2 separate regions of the Homo sapiens genome follow, and region 2 is linked to region 1. The links are contacts of gene promoters, found by promoter capture Hi-C in blood cells and fetal thymus (Javierre and others, 2016). All regions are on one chromosome and are shown on one strand. Each heading gives the region's core, a stretch centred on a gene start or on the middle of the fragment in contact. The rest is flanking DNA. Distances are from core to core; before and after follow the strand shown.

The links. The method cuts DNA at HindIII sites, captures the fragments that hold promoters and counts their contacts. A CHiCAGO score of 5 or more calls a contact.
Region 2: a contact is called between a fragment that was not itself captured here and the fragment with the promoter of SMAP1 in region 1, in 1 of 17 cell types (activated CD4 T cells). The highest score is 5.6, in activated CD4 T cells.

Annotation. Positions count from the first base shown.
Region 1 is chr6:70,663,775-70,670,207 of GRCh38, forward strand. It overlaps SMAP1 (small ArfGAP 1), which reads left to right and starts at 4,109. Exons shown (of 11, transcript NM_001044305.3): 1 at 4,109-4,367. The coding sequence starts at 4,250. It also overlaps the pseudogene SLC25A6P6. RefSeq lists silencers at 3,891-4,290, 4,441-4,670, 4,791-4,850. The HindIII fragment of the contact is 2,958 bases long and covers 1,359-4,316 here.
Region 2 is chr6:69,812,478-69,818,352 of GRCh38, forward strand. No RefSeq gene overlaps it. Among named protein-coding and RNA genes, the nearest start is that of LMBRD1, 18 kb to the left of the region's middle. RefSeq lists enhancers at 3,529-3,848, 3,959-4,028. The HindIII fragment of the contact is 3,272 bases long and covers 1-3,124 here.

The DNA of each region.
Region 1 (6,433 bases), core at 2,859-5,358:
TCAGGCTGCCCAGAAAAGGATGATGCCCTGCACAGAGATGCTGAAGCCCTGGTACAGGCCCCAGATCCCATCAGACTTACTTATCTTCACCAGACAGTCTCCTAGGTCTTTGAACCTGAATCCCAGCTCTGTGTACGATTTCCCAACATTGACCACCAGATGGGTTCTGGCAAAACCCAGCAAGTACACAAAACAGAGACAGGTGGCTCTGGCCGCCTTGTTGGAGGCCAGATTGTGGGCAAAACAGCTCTAGAACTGTGTGTGTTCATCCATACTCCCAGGAATAGCTGTGTCTGCTTATCCTTGAATGTGATGTTGAGGGCTTGCTTAAGAAAGTAGTCCACAATTCCTGTGCACTGCTGTCAGCTGTCACCTGCTTCCTAGCGCCTTGCATCTGCTACAGCAGCTTCACCTGCTCAATCAGGGCCACAACTATCTTGGCGACAGCAGCAGCAATGCCACCAGCCAGATGGTCCTTGGCAAAGGAGATCGCCTGTTGTGTCATGGTTGCAGAGCAGGAAGCTGAGCACATGGAGAACTGGGAGGATTAGTGCTGCTGGCTCAGCCCTGTGACTGCTGGACCTAGAGGCCTACCTCTTCTATTCTTGATCTGGGTTAACGGCATTACCATTTACCTTTCTCCCAACTTAGAAAGCTTGATGTTATTCTCACCTTCTTTCTCTTGCCCTCCACATACAGTCAGCTGCCAAATCTTGCTGCTTCTAATTTTAAACCATCATTTGATTCTGTCTCTCCCAAACCCTACGCTACTTGCTTAAAATAGGCCTTCATCATATCTTCTTTGGACTATTATTGAGACAGGCCTGTAATCTGTTCCCTTGATAAGTTTTTCCCCACCATGTTCTCCATACTGCCACTGTATGGAGAGTTACTGAGAAGAAAGCTTATCAAGCCATTTTTCCGTGTAAAAGCTTCTATTGGTTCTATAAACCCATGAGGTTCAAACTCTGTTGCTTGGCTACAAAGCTCTTAACCCTCTGGTGGCAATCTACCTCTCCATCTTGTTTCCTTTCCTACCTTCATGTTCTCCAAACACATTCTAGGTTTCTTGGGCCTCATATCCTCACTATGTCTAGCATATAACCCTGAACTTTCAGAAGTCCATACGTGTTTTTTAAAGCAATTCCTTTCTCTCCGCTCCACCCCCATTCACTTGAAAAATTCCCCCATCTGTTAAAAGCCAAGTTTAAGCATCACCTCCTCCGTGAAACTTTCCCAGATTTTCCCAGGCTACTGGATGTTCTGTTCCTTTTGCTCCGAGAACACTTTATAATTGCTATAAACTTTACAGTGTAGTCCTTTTCTATTTACATATTTGTAGCTCATAGTAGACTGTAAGCTTCTGATTATTAGTGTACTAGATAGAAGTTGTTTGATAAATACTGGTGAATAAATGCAATGTTGTTTTCTTCCCAGGATGTTTTGGGGACCAGTCTCTTTCTTCCTACTATAGTCTTAAAATACAATCAACTCAAATTTATATTTTAATAGCCTCTAAGCTGACCATCTAGAACCACACTATTCAATAATGTATCCACTAGTCACATGTGGCTGCTGAACATTTGAAATTCATCTACTCCAGGCTGGGCGCAGTGCCTCACACCTGTAATCCCAGCACTTTGGGAGGCCAAGGTGGGAGGATAGCTTGAGGCTAGGAGTTCAAGACCATGCTGGCCCACATAGTGAGACCCCATGGACCAGCAGGGTCTCGAACTCCTAGGCTCAATTTTTTGATAATTTCTTTATTAAAAAATAAATTCAGCCACTCCAAAATGAAATGAGCTGTGTTATACAGCATTTTGAAGAGAATATGAAAACAAGAATGGAAAGAAAATATGCCATGTTTTATATTACATCTCAAAAATATTTTGGATACATTGAGTTAAATCAAATGTATTAGTAAAATGTATTTTATGTTTCTTTTTCTGTTTTTAAATGTGGCTACTGCATTATTTAAAGTTATACGTGTGGCACGCAAGTATTTGTACTGGACATTGCTGTGACCCTTCAATCCATCCTGAAGGTTGTTTTTTGGTGGTAAACCTGTATTCTGTTTTTCTGAGTCCTCACAGTGCTGAACAGAATTTTTGTAGGGAGGAGAGGTACTCAAAAAATGGTGTTTGTTTACTGGTTACTGCAGGACTAACTTTCCCAAAAGATCCTTTTTATTATGCTATTATCCTACTTGAAGAATCTACAGGTTTTCTTTTTCTTTTTTTGGGGGGGGGGTGGGTGGGGAAGGAGTTTTGCTCTTGTTGCCCAGGCTGGAGTGCAATGGCCTGATCTCCGCTCACTGCAACCTCTGCCTCCCGGGTTCAAGCGATTCTCCTGCCTCAGTCTCCTGAGTAGCTGGGATTAAACAGGCATGCGCCACTACACCCGGCTAATTTTGTATTATCAGTAGAGACAGGGTTTCTCCATGTTGGTCAGGATGGTCTCGAACTCCCCACCTCAGGTGATCCGCCTGCCTCGGCCTCCCAAAGTGCTGGGATTACAGGCGTGAGCCACTGTGCCTGGCAAAAATCTACAGGTTTTCTACTGTCAATTTGCATCAAGGCCAGACTACTTTGTCTGGCTTCCCAAGTCTTCCATAACCCTATCATAGTTTACTTATGCAGCCTTATCTCAAAAGTAGTACCTTTTGTTCCAGTCTGTTTTCCAAGGTACTTCAGGTCTTCATGCTTTTGTGCAAGCTGCTCTTTCTTAATATCTCCCTCCCCAGTCCCCATCTAAATCCAGCGTATCTTCAGGACAAGGCTCGTAAGTTCTACCTCCCACATAATGTTTTTTTCTGTTCATTGGAACTCACCAATATCTCCCTAGTAGTTATTTGTCAGAGCTATGTAGTATAAGCTCTAATTTGTTTAATTACTGAGCATCTTCATTGCCATATCCATTCAATTTAATTCCAGAAACATTTTTGAGCCCCTGTGCCAAGAACAGGGCTAGGTAGCAATGAGGGTCACTTTTATGCAGGGACAGGGGCTAGAAATTGGCCTTACTAAGAAGTGTAAGACCGACTCTTGCTCATTGCCTTTCTTAGCATCTGCTTCATCGCAGGCAAGGACTGTGTTTATTTGGCTTGCATAAGCCCCATATTAGAACTTCCTCATAATATACAACATGCCAAATCATCGAAACTGCGTCACCCGGAGTTCAAACTTCATGAGCCTGGATTAGGGTCTGGGTTCCAATGAAAAGTGTTTTCTTTAGTTCTCTTTCTCTTGCATTAAGGATCACTATTTACACAGCTTCTTGTTAAAGTATCACCGCCTAGTACTTGGGTTCCTGGTCACACTTTCCCCCTTATGGAAGGGCTTACTGCCAGGTCTTTCAGACTCTGGAGCCAGACTGCTTTGGATTTAAATCTCAACTCCTCCACTAGTAGTTCTGTAATCTGGTCAGGTTACTTAACTCCTCTATGCCTCACTTTCCTCCCCTGTGTAATGAGGATAACAATATCATAAGGTTGGGGAAAGGGTTAAATGAGCTAACAGTTCGTTTAACAGAGTAATCACTCAATGAAATGTTATCCCCTAATACATGTCACTACTAGATTATTTCTCGCCCTTAAAATGTAAGAGACCGTTTTTCCTCTTTTCTTCCATCCGTGTCTCCAGCTTCTAAACTGCAGGCGAATAAACCTCGAATGAGTAAATGAACCCACCCAGTCGCTAGTTATTTCTGCATTTCCAATGTTGTGCCAGCAAGAGCAAAGGCAAATGGGCAAGTCAAAGTAGGCTTCTTGTAAAAGGTCTTCCATTACTGGGTTTTACTAGAGGCCCTTGCGGACCATCACATCTCAAAAGGGGGGAAAGCTCGTATGAGGCAGTGCCAGCTACCTTTCGGGAATCACCTTGGGCAGAAGGCCTTTTTGCAAAAAGACTCGGCAGCCCGGGCCCCGTAGGTTCGGCGCATGCGCAGCGCGCTCGGCGCCCGGGTTCCTTCCTCCGCGCCACCCGGAAGCCTCGGCGCGACCCAGTCCCCCTCCCCCTCCCCTCGCCGGCTAGGGTGGTGCGTGCCGGCAGGCCGGTCAAGGAGGCGGGACACGTCGGCGCTACCACCGCCACCGCCGCCGCCGCCCCTCCTCCCGTTCCAGCTGCCGCTGCCGCTTCCTGGGCTGAGTCCGCCCGCGGTCCCGGCGGCGCCAGGTGCGTTCACTCTGCCCGGCTCCAGCCAGCGTCCGCCGCCGCCGTAGCTGCCCCAGGCTCCCCGCCCCGCTGCCGAGATGGCGACGCGCTCCTGTCGGGAGAAGGCTCAGAAGCTGAACGAGCAGCACCAGCTCATCCTATCCAAGCTTCTGAGGGAGGAGGACAACAAGTACTGCGCCGACTGCGAGGCCAAAGGTAGCTTGGACGTCGTCGCTGCCCACGGTCGGGGCCTCTTGCGACCGGTGACCTTCCCGCCGCTGCGGCGCTCGGGGCCCGAGCGGACGCCTCGGCTTCGCTGGCCGGCTCCTGCCCTGACTGGAGGGCGGGTGGCTGAGCGGGCGGGCGCGGGGCTCCTGTCGACCCTCAAGTCCGCCAGAGGCGGCGGCGAGGTCAGGCCCGCAGGCCCTGTCAGTGGCCCCAGCCTCCCCTCCTCCCAGACACGGGTTTGAGCAGGTGCCAGGGTAGCGATGCTCGGACCCTCCACAGGGCTGGGGGTAGGAGCGAGGCTGGGAGCGCGGAACCGGGCACGGGTCTGGGCAGAGCTTAGGGTTAGAGAGTTGCCCTCCTAGCTCTGCTCATAGCTATCTCTGTGGGTGGGGCCGCGCTTAGGTCTGGATCCCCTCCTCTACCCTCCGGTGTGACCACGTCCTCCCACTCCGGGCTCGGATTCTTGGTCTCCTAGATGGAGCCCTACCTGCCTGCCCACCTGACAGCTTTTGTACAAGGCTTTTATCTCTGCTTCCTGAAAAAGAGTATGGTGGTCTTTTTCGGTGGGTTTGAGTTTTACGGAATAAATTAATTGGAGAAAGGTCTTTATTAGTAGTAGTATTGTTTTTTAGTCTGGTTATTAGCCAGAATGAAGAGGAATTTCATTACATGAGTCTCTTGGAGGACGGTGGGTTTGTATTTCTGAAGATTTTAGTAATTAGGTTTTCTCTGACCAGCTAGTTTGGGAGAATATGTGGACACTGATTTGTGTACCTCATAAATGCTGAAGGTTCATTTTAAAGATCTAGAGATGGAAAAAACCTAATTTTAGTTTTTTCGGTTGGAGGGCTTCTGCCTCAGCCTTTGAAACAGATATACTATTTTTAGCTGCTATGTTTTGTGTTTGGAGATCTGATTTATGTTTAATGTCTTGTAAGTAATCTCAAGGGAAATATTTCTTTTTTTTTTAAAGAAATGTCTTGTGTAGTTAAGAAAAGATCGTGTATATTTTTAATTGGTTTATTTCGTTATTGGGTGAGAAATAGGGTAGTTCTCTAAAGCAGGAGACAGTCTCTTTGGGGAATGTCCTTTAAGATTTCTGTGTTATTTGACTTAGACTTTTCCTGAAGCTTTACTGTTCTATCTCAATACTATATAAATGAGTCACATTTCAGTAGGCTGATAATATTTGACTAGACTGAGCCACACAGCATCAGCAGGTTACTTCACTGTCGTAACAGGTACTGAATTACTAGAAGAATCATGCGGGAATACTGTAACTAGATTATTTTTATGAAGCACTTTTCAATATAGTAACTTGATTGAGTCAAGATTATATTTATCCTATGTAACCTTTTCAGGTGATGAGTTTTTACAAAGTCCGTGCCTGGTTCTTGTAATACTTGTTTTCCTAGTAACTTGATTGTGTGTGGTTATTTGGGAGTTCTGCACTGTGTTTAGGCTCAGTTGCTTGCTCATTGACTGCACTAGCAAAACACTGAAAAATGGTCCTTTAAAAGGCCAAGAAGAAGAAAGAAGCTGAAGCTAAATAGTACACATTTTGTCATTTTGAGTAATAACATGGTTAAGTAGAGATGCTGGTAAATATTAAATCTGTTCATTAAAAGTCGAATAGTAACAGTTTCAGAATTAACCTTCCTTCATCTACAGACTTTATTAAAAATAATTTAATTTTTGTTCAAATTTCTGTCTCCAAAAAAGTACTTTATAAAATCAGATTTTCACTAATGCTTTCTAAAATAATACAGATTTTTAAAAGCCATTATTAACCATGTTAACTTTTTTTTTTTTTATTTACTCTTTTGAGGTGGGGAGAAGAGAATCATGTACTTCTTAAATTAGGATCAAAAGTTTTACTTCTTTGGACCTGAAGAATAGGAAGTATTCGTTTTGCTCAGTGTTTGTATTGCCACGGAAATCAGTAGATATATATTGAATGAATGTCTTTTGTATTTTGGTTTTGTCTGGCCTTTTGTTGGTTTACTTGTTTTGAGAAGTGAAGGAAGTGGGAGAGAAGAGAATGGTATCAAGAG
Region 2 (5,875 bases), core at 239-2,738, 850 kb before region 1:
ATTTGGTGGGGGTACCAGCTTCTAAGAAACAACTCAGGGACATATATTCTGATGTTCTCTTTAGTTTCTACAGGGTGAAACCGCCTTTGCAAAATTATAACTGAGGAAATTATGACAGTGACAGAAATCACACCTAACTGATTCCATCTGGCTCCTAATCTTTAAGCTGTCCTTCTTCATTCCTGAGGATAGGCCAAACTAATTTTGAGAAGGAATTCAGTTCATGGCTTGATTCTGAAACAAAATTGATAATAGACCTTTCCTGAAAAGACCCCTTCCTTGCCTGGGTACCAGTCTGCCTTTGCAGGACTAACAAATTAGCTACAAGATTAGAAATTACAGTTTAGGGGCATGCAGCCTCTGGCTCCAAGTTGCTGGGGATAACATCACTATTGCAAACCTAAGATCAGTGCTTGAGATATTTTGCAGAATCTGCACTGGATGGATCAGCAGACACCACCCAGACCAGTAATCTGGCTCAACCAGTTCTACCATCTCACCCAGATGAACAGAAAACAGCAAGAAAAAGTCAACTTCGACCCCCTATGGTTCCATCTCCAACCTGACCAATCAGCACTCCCCACTTCTCAAGCCCCTACCTGCCAAATTATCTTTAAAAACTCTGATCCTCAAATGCTCAAGGATATTTGATTTGAGTAATAATAAAACTCCAGTCTCCTGCACAGATGGCTCTGTGTGACTTAGTCGTTCTGCCTTGCAGTTCCCCTCTCTTCATAAATCGTCTCTGTCTAAGCAGTGGGCAAGGTGAATCCGTTGAGCAGTTACAAGGAAACCAAACATCTCAGAACTCTAATTCCCTTGGCTATAGTTTTAAGCTACTCTTGCCTTCTTGCTTATCAAGTTGCTCATTTACTTCTTAGGGCTAACCAGGTGTCTGGAAGTTCCCTTAAAGGAATTCAATATTTTTCTTTATTTCCATGTTTGGCAAGGGGAGCAGGCAGCAGCCCCCTAAGAAAGGTTCTTGCTTTGTCTCACTGAACACATGAATTTAAGTTTGATTATCAGATCATTTTTTTTTAACAACTTGAACTCCGAAGACATGAGGTAGTCAGAAAAAAAGGAGGAGTCAATCAGTCAGGATTCTGGCAAGAAACAGAGGGTAGTACATCTAAAAGTGTACTTTTAATCATCTAAAAGTGATTCAGAAGAAGAGTTCAATGATTGGACTATTTACAAAGATGTGAGCAGGAAAAAGGGAAGCTAACCCTAGAGTTGTCAAAACAGGAAATCATTACCACCACTGAAAGGTCACTCCCTGTCTCAGAAGGAGGTTACTGGAATCTGAAAAGACCTATACACTTAGGAAAGAGCTTTCTAGTAGCCATTGTCACCTACAGTCCCTCAAGAAGGGAGCCAGGGGATAAATACTCTGTTACTCTTTTTGAATGTACTTAACAGGAAAACAGAAGGCAAGGGAGCCTATTTATTGCAAACATAATGATCAGCCTCCTGGGGCACAGAGCAGAGTGGAGAAGGATGGAACGTGTATCTGGAGGAGCAAATGGAAGACACTCAGCAGAAGGGGAAAGACTTGTTTAAATAGAATAATACCAAGGAAAACAGGACTGCTGGTGAAGACAAAGAGGGCGTTTTTCACAGATACTTCATGTTCTAGCAATAGTGGAAAAACAATGCTATTTCAATTTTTGAGTAGTTAATGAGAAACTGATATTTCTAAATAAGAAAAGGCCGAATATCCTTGTTTTAATTAAAGTCTATTGTTCATTTTGTATTGTGCAAAATGAAGACAGCCAGTGATAGCTATAGTTCAAAAAAGATTCTAATTATTTGCAGAATAACTAAGTATATAATGTTTCAGCTTTATATTAAAATACAGCTTTCCTATTAAAAGGATGTTTCTAATTTTAAAAATATGAATAAATTGATGTTATAAAAAATACTGCTGGCTAGGTTTAGCCCTGAATAACAAGAAGGAACAATGTCAAAATTTGTATAGGCCTTTAGTATTTCCATTTAATTTTGAAATGAAGGTTTATTCATTTAAATTTTGGGTTGTTTTATTTTACTCTGTTATGTACTTAATCAAATATTGATAGACCAAATGACTTCAGTAATGTTGGCTCTGTATCTATTTCATTTTTTAGCATCACATATAGATAACCTTTTGCTGATACAGCTTAAGAATTGTACCAAATAAAAAGCCAATGCTATATCTACAAATGAGAACTTAGAAAAAAAAATCTAGCACCAATAAGATATCAAATTTTGACTTTTAAAATTACTTTTTCAATACATAAACATATGTCCACATGCATACTTTCTAGATGGATTGTCATTTCACAGAAGCCTTTTCTCATATTGAAATGGAATGCAGATTGGGTAGTTAAATTTGATAGTGAGAAATAAAAATAAAAAATTCTAAGCCCCCAACTGACTGAACGGACATCTCTCTTGGCCAAGGGGAATCGAGAGAAATCTTGGAAGCTGAATTTACAGTCATGACAGGATGGATGTTCAGACATGCCTCATTATAACCCCCTCCCTTGCTAACCACCATTAGGCTTTCTACTCTGAGGGCTAAACAGAAACTAGCCCTTTCAAAAGACTCCACACTGATAATGTTGATCACTAGCTTATCTTTCCTGGTACAGAACAAAGACAAGATGAAATCAATTGTTCTTTTACCCTTGCCTGAGATGTCTGCTTCCTCTATTCCCTTTTTCTTCACATGTTCACCTTATCTTATGTAAAATGTAGATTTATTAGGCACTAACTAAAAACCTTACAAGTATGTAATCATTAATTTCACTGCTACCTGCCCGCCCCTTTTCTTAAAGGAAAATATGTAAATACTAAACTTCCTGAGAACCTCTTTGGAAAACACAATCACAGAATGCATCTGTGACTTGCATTTTAACCAGGTGAACCCTCAGGCTGGCTCAATAAACATCAATGATCTGAGACTTATGCTTCAGTCACTCACTTTGATCTGTCAACGGAAAACTCTCAAGAAATTTCCTTTTTATATCTTTTAAGCAAACTCACACACACACACACACACACACACACACACACACACACACATACAGCTTTTTCTTTGCTAAGTCTGTATGTCAATTAACATCTGACCAGTACTAGAATAAGCTTAATTTTCAAGGGAAGATGGAGCTTCGTGAAAGATAGAGAGTTGTCCCATCATTTCTGATGATTACAACTCATCTTTCTTCAGGCCAGATTTTTTTTTTTTTCCTGATGTGCAAATACAAGTTTTCACAAGTTTCTTGAAAACCATTCAGTCTTTACCATTACCATGTACCCAAATCAATCATCTGTTTACTATTACCTAATTACCTTGTAACTTATACGTTTCTGGAGCTACCTGTAATCCAGTCTCATGGACTCACACTCAAAGAAACACCAGTTGGGCATAAAAATATAATTAGAAGCAAGGGAGATTTGATTCACGCCCATGAGAAATTACCAAAGGGTAATTAGAGTAATTATACTTCTTTTAAGTTCTCTTTAGACCTCACTCTCATATTCTCTCACATGTCTGCAGGGGCAGATTTACCATCATGTTAATGGAGCTTCAGCGCCAATGATCCACTTGCACAGGTGTTTTCCATGGTCCTGTGGAAAAAAAGGCCTAGCAATGTGTTCCCATGGACCTATGGTTTTTTTGTAAATTTTTGTAAGTAATGTATTTTTGCTTCAGTCTGTTGAGACCACTGTCTCTTTCCATTTTCACTTTCACATTTTGCCTCATATGAGTATCACTGGAGTGGCTGCAGGCATTCTGAGGCTCCAGCTCAGGTTAAGTAGGGTTAGGGATGCATTTAGTTTAGGTTGAGTGGGATGTATTTACATGGAGTTACTCTCATGTTTAGTTAAATTATTGCTAGGCATCCAGGTGTAGCAATGGCTTTCAGGAATATTCTTATTGCCCATGATTCCAATTTGATGTGCACTATGACACAAAGGCAAGACCAGAGGTCTATTTTTGAAAGTGTGGAGCCAAAATGAAGGCTATTTTCTAGATTTTGTGATGTCTGTGGTATTCGGCATCTGTTAAAATTTTCTAATCTGTTTTTCTCATTCTAAATTAAAGTTTACTTTTGAGTCTAACTTTGTATTCATAATTTTCCATTCTTTTTCTTGAGGAGGAGCCCCCACAAAGTTAAAAGCTTGTCTCCTGGATCCGCCTTGCAGATGAGAAAAAAATTCTCACTGCCCTCTCTCTGGTTCCTTCCCAGAAAACTTTCCTGACAGACAGACAGGCTGGCTTTTCACACTAAGCACCACTTCCTGCTTAACAGTGCCCCCATCACTGCTTCCGTCTTTCTGTTGCCTTTTCAAGTACACCTTTCTCACTCACGAATATCTTGCTAAGTATCTGGGTCTTCTTTTCCTAACTGCCTTCTTTTTGAGAAGTAGCTCTGTGTTTTGGAATTAAACATAAATAAAATCCTCCATCTCTTCCACAATTAGCCATTGTTTCTCTAACTTGAGCAATACATAAATTAGTCCTTTTTAAATGGGAAAACATTTTGGGGCAATCTAATGACAACTTATTTTCATGATGCTATTTAAATAAGTAAAAATGTAAAACAATGGATGAATGCCTTAATTTTATAGGCCTTATACAACTTTACAACAAATAAAAATTCAAGTGAAACTTAAAAAGAAGATAAAATCATGTTAATAACATTATTTTAATGTGATGCATAGTGGCATTTGGCTGAAAAAAAATCATTCAGTCCTGAGTTTAATAGTAGAAAGATGCAGACTCATGTCTGGTTTTATAATTAATCTCTTTTGACATTTTGATTTCAATAATGCAAATGTAGAAAATGTCTATTCCCATAAGTATATGGTACAAAATGGTATTAATAACTTCAAGTCTTTGTTTGCAAATTAAGTATAATCAGGCCTTATGCTTAACTAAATCTCTGCCAGTGAGCAATCCTGGAGTGCCAGTTTTATAGTGGAGTCATTTGATAATTGTATAAATGTTTGTTTTTACTTGGAGATAATATGAGTACTGGCACTATTGAAATATGTATTAAATGGGTATGTAATCTAATTATTGCTGGAACTGGAAATAGAACTATTTGTCATTGCATATTTTCTGCTAATGAAATATTAATTACAAAATGGGATGTACATGACAGTATTCTTAAAACCATTTGTTCACAATGTGAATACTGTATAACATTGGCTAACTAAAGAGATTCTTGTGAGGTTAGTAAGCCTGTATTATCATATGTCACAGGATCCATCAATTCTACCATGACATTTTTTTGTTCCAACCAAGGAACTACTTTCACACATTCAGTTTGTTACCTTACACTTACTCCATGCAAAAGAGACAGAAAATATAAACTGCAAGATAGTACTCAGTTATCAGGTACTTCAAATGAACCAGATGATTTAATATAGGCTCGTATTAATTTTGTAAAATTTTTGTGAAAATAAAAATGCAGAATAAAAAATTGACTTAGAGAATTCTCAACTATTGTTGTTTTGCTTTACTAAATAAGATAATTATAAAATGCTTCTTGAAATTTTAGCACTAAAATTATTACTATTGATTTAGTCTATTGTAATAGTTATGCTAAAATATTTTATAGGCTCCCAAAATAATTATTTACATATTTTTAATGTGTTATGTACATATAAAATCAGACTCTAGAAGAAAATACCTGAATAACCAAAAATTATAACACTAGGACTCACACAAAGCCACTCACATGAAACCACTCACCTGTGCTTCAGAAAGCTGAGGGTTTGTAATCTACAAGATAGAAGCCTAAAAGTGTCTGGGCATCACATTATAACTTATCTTGACAACCTCTGTACACATAGGTGTTATATTGCCAACAAAATTTTGTGA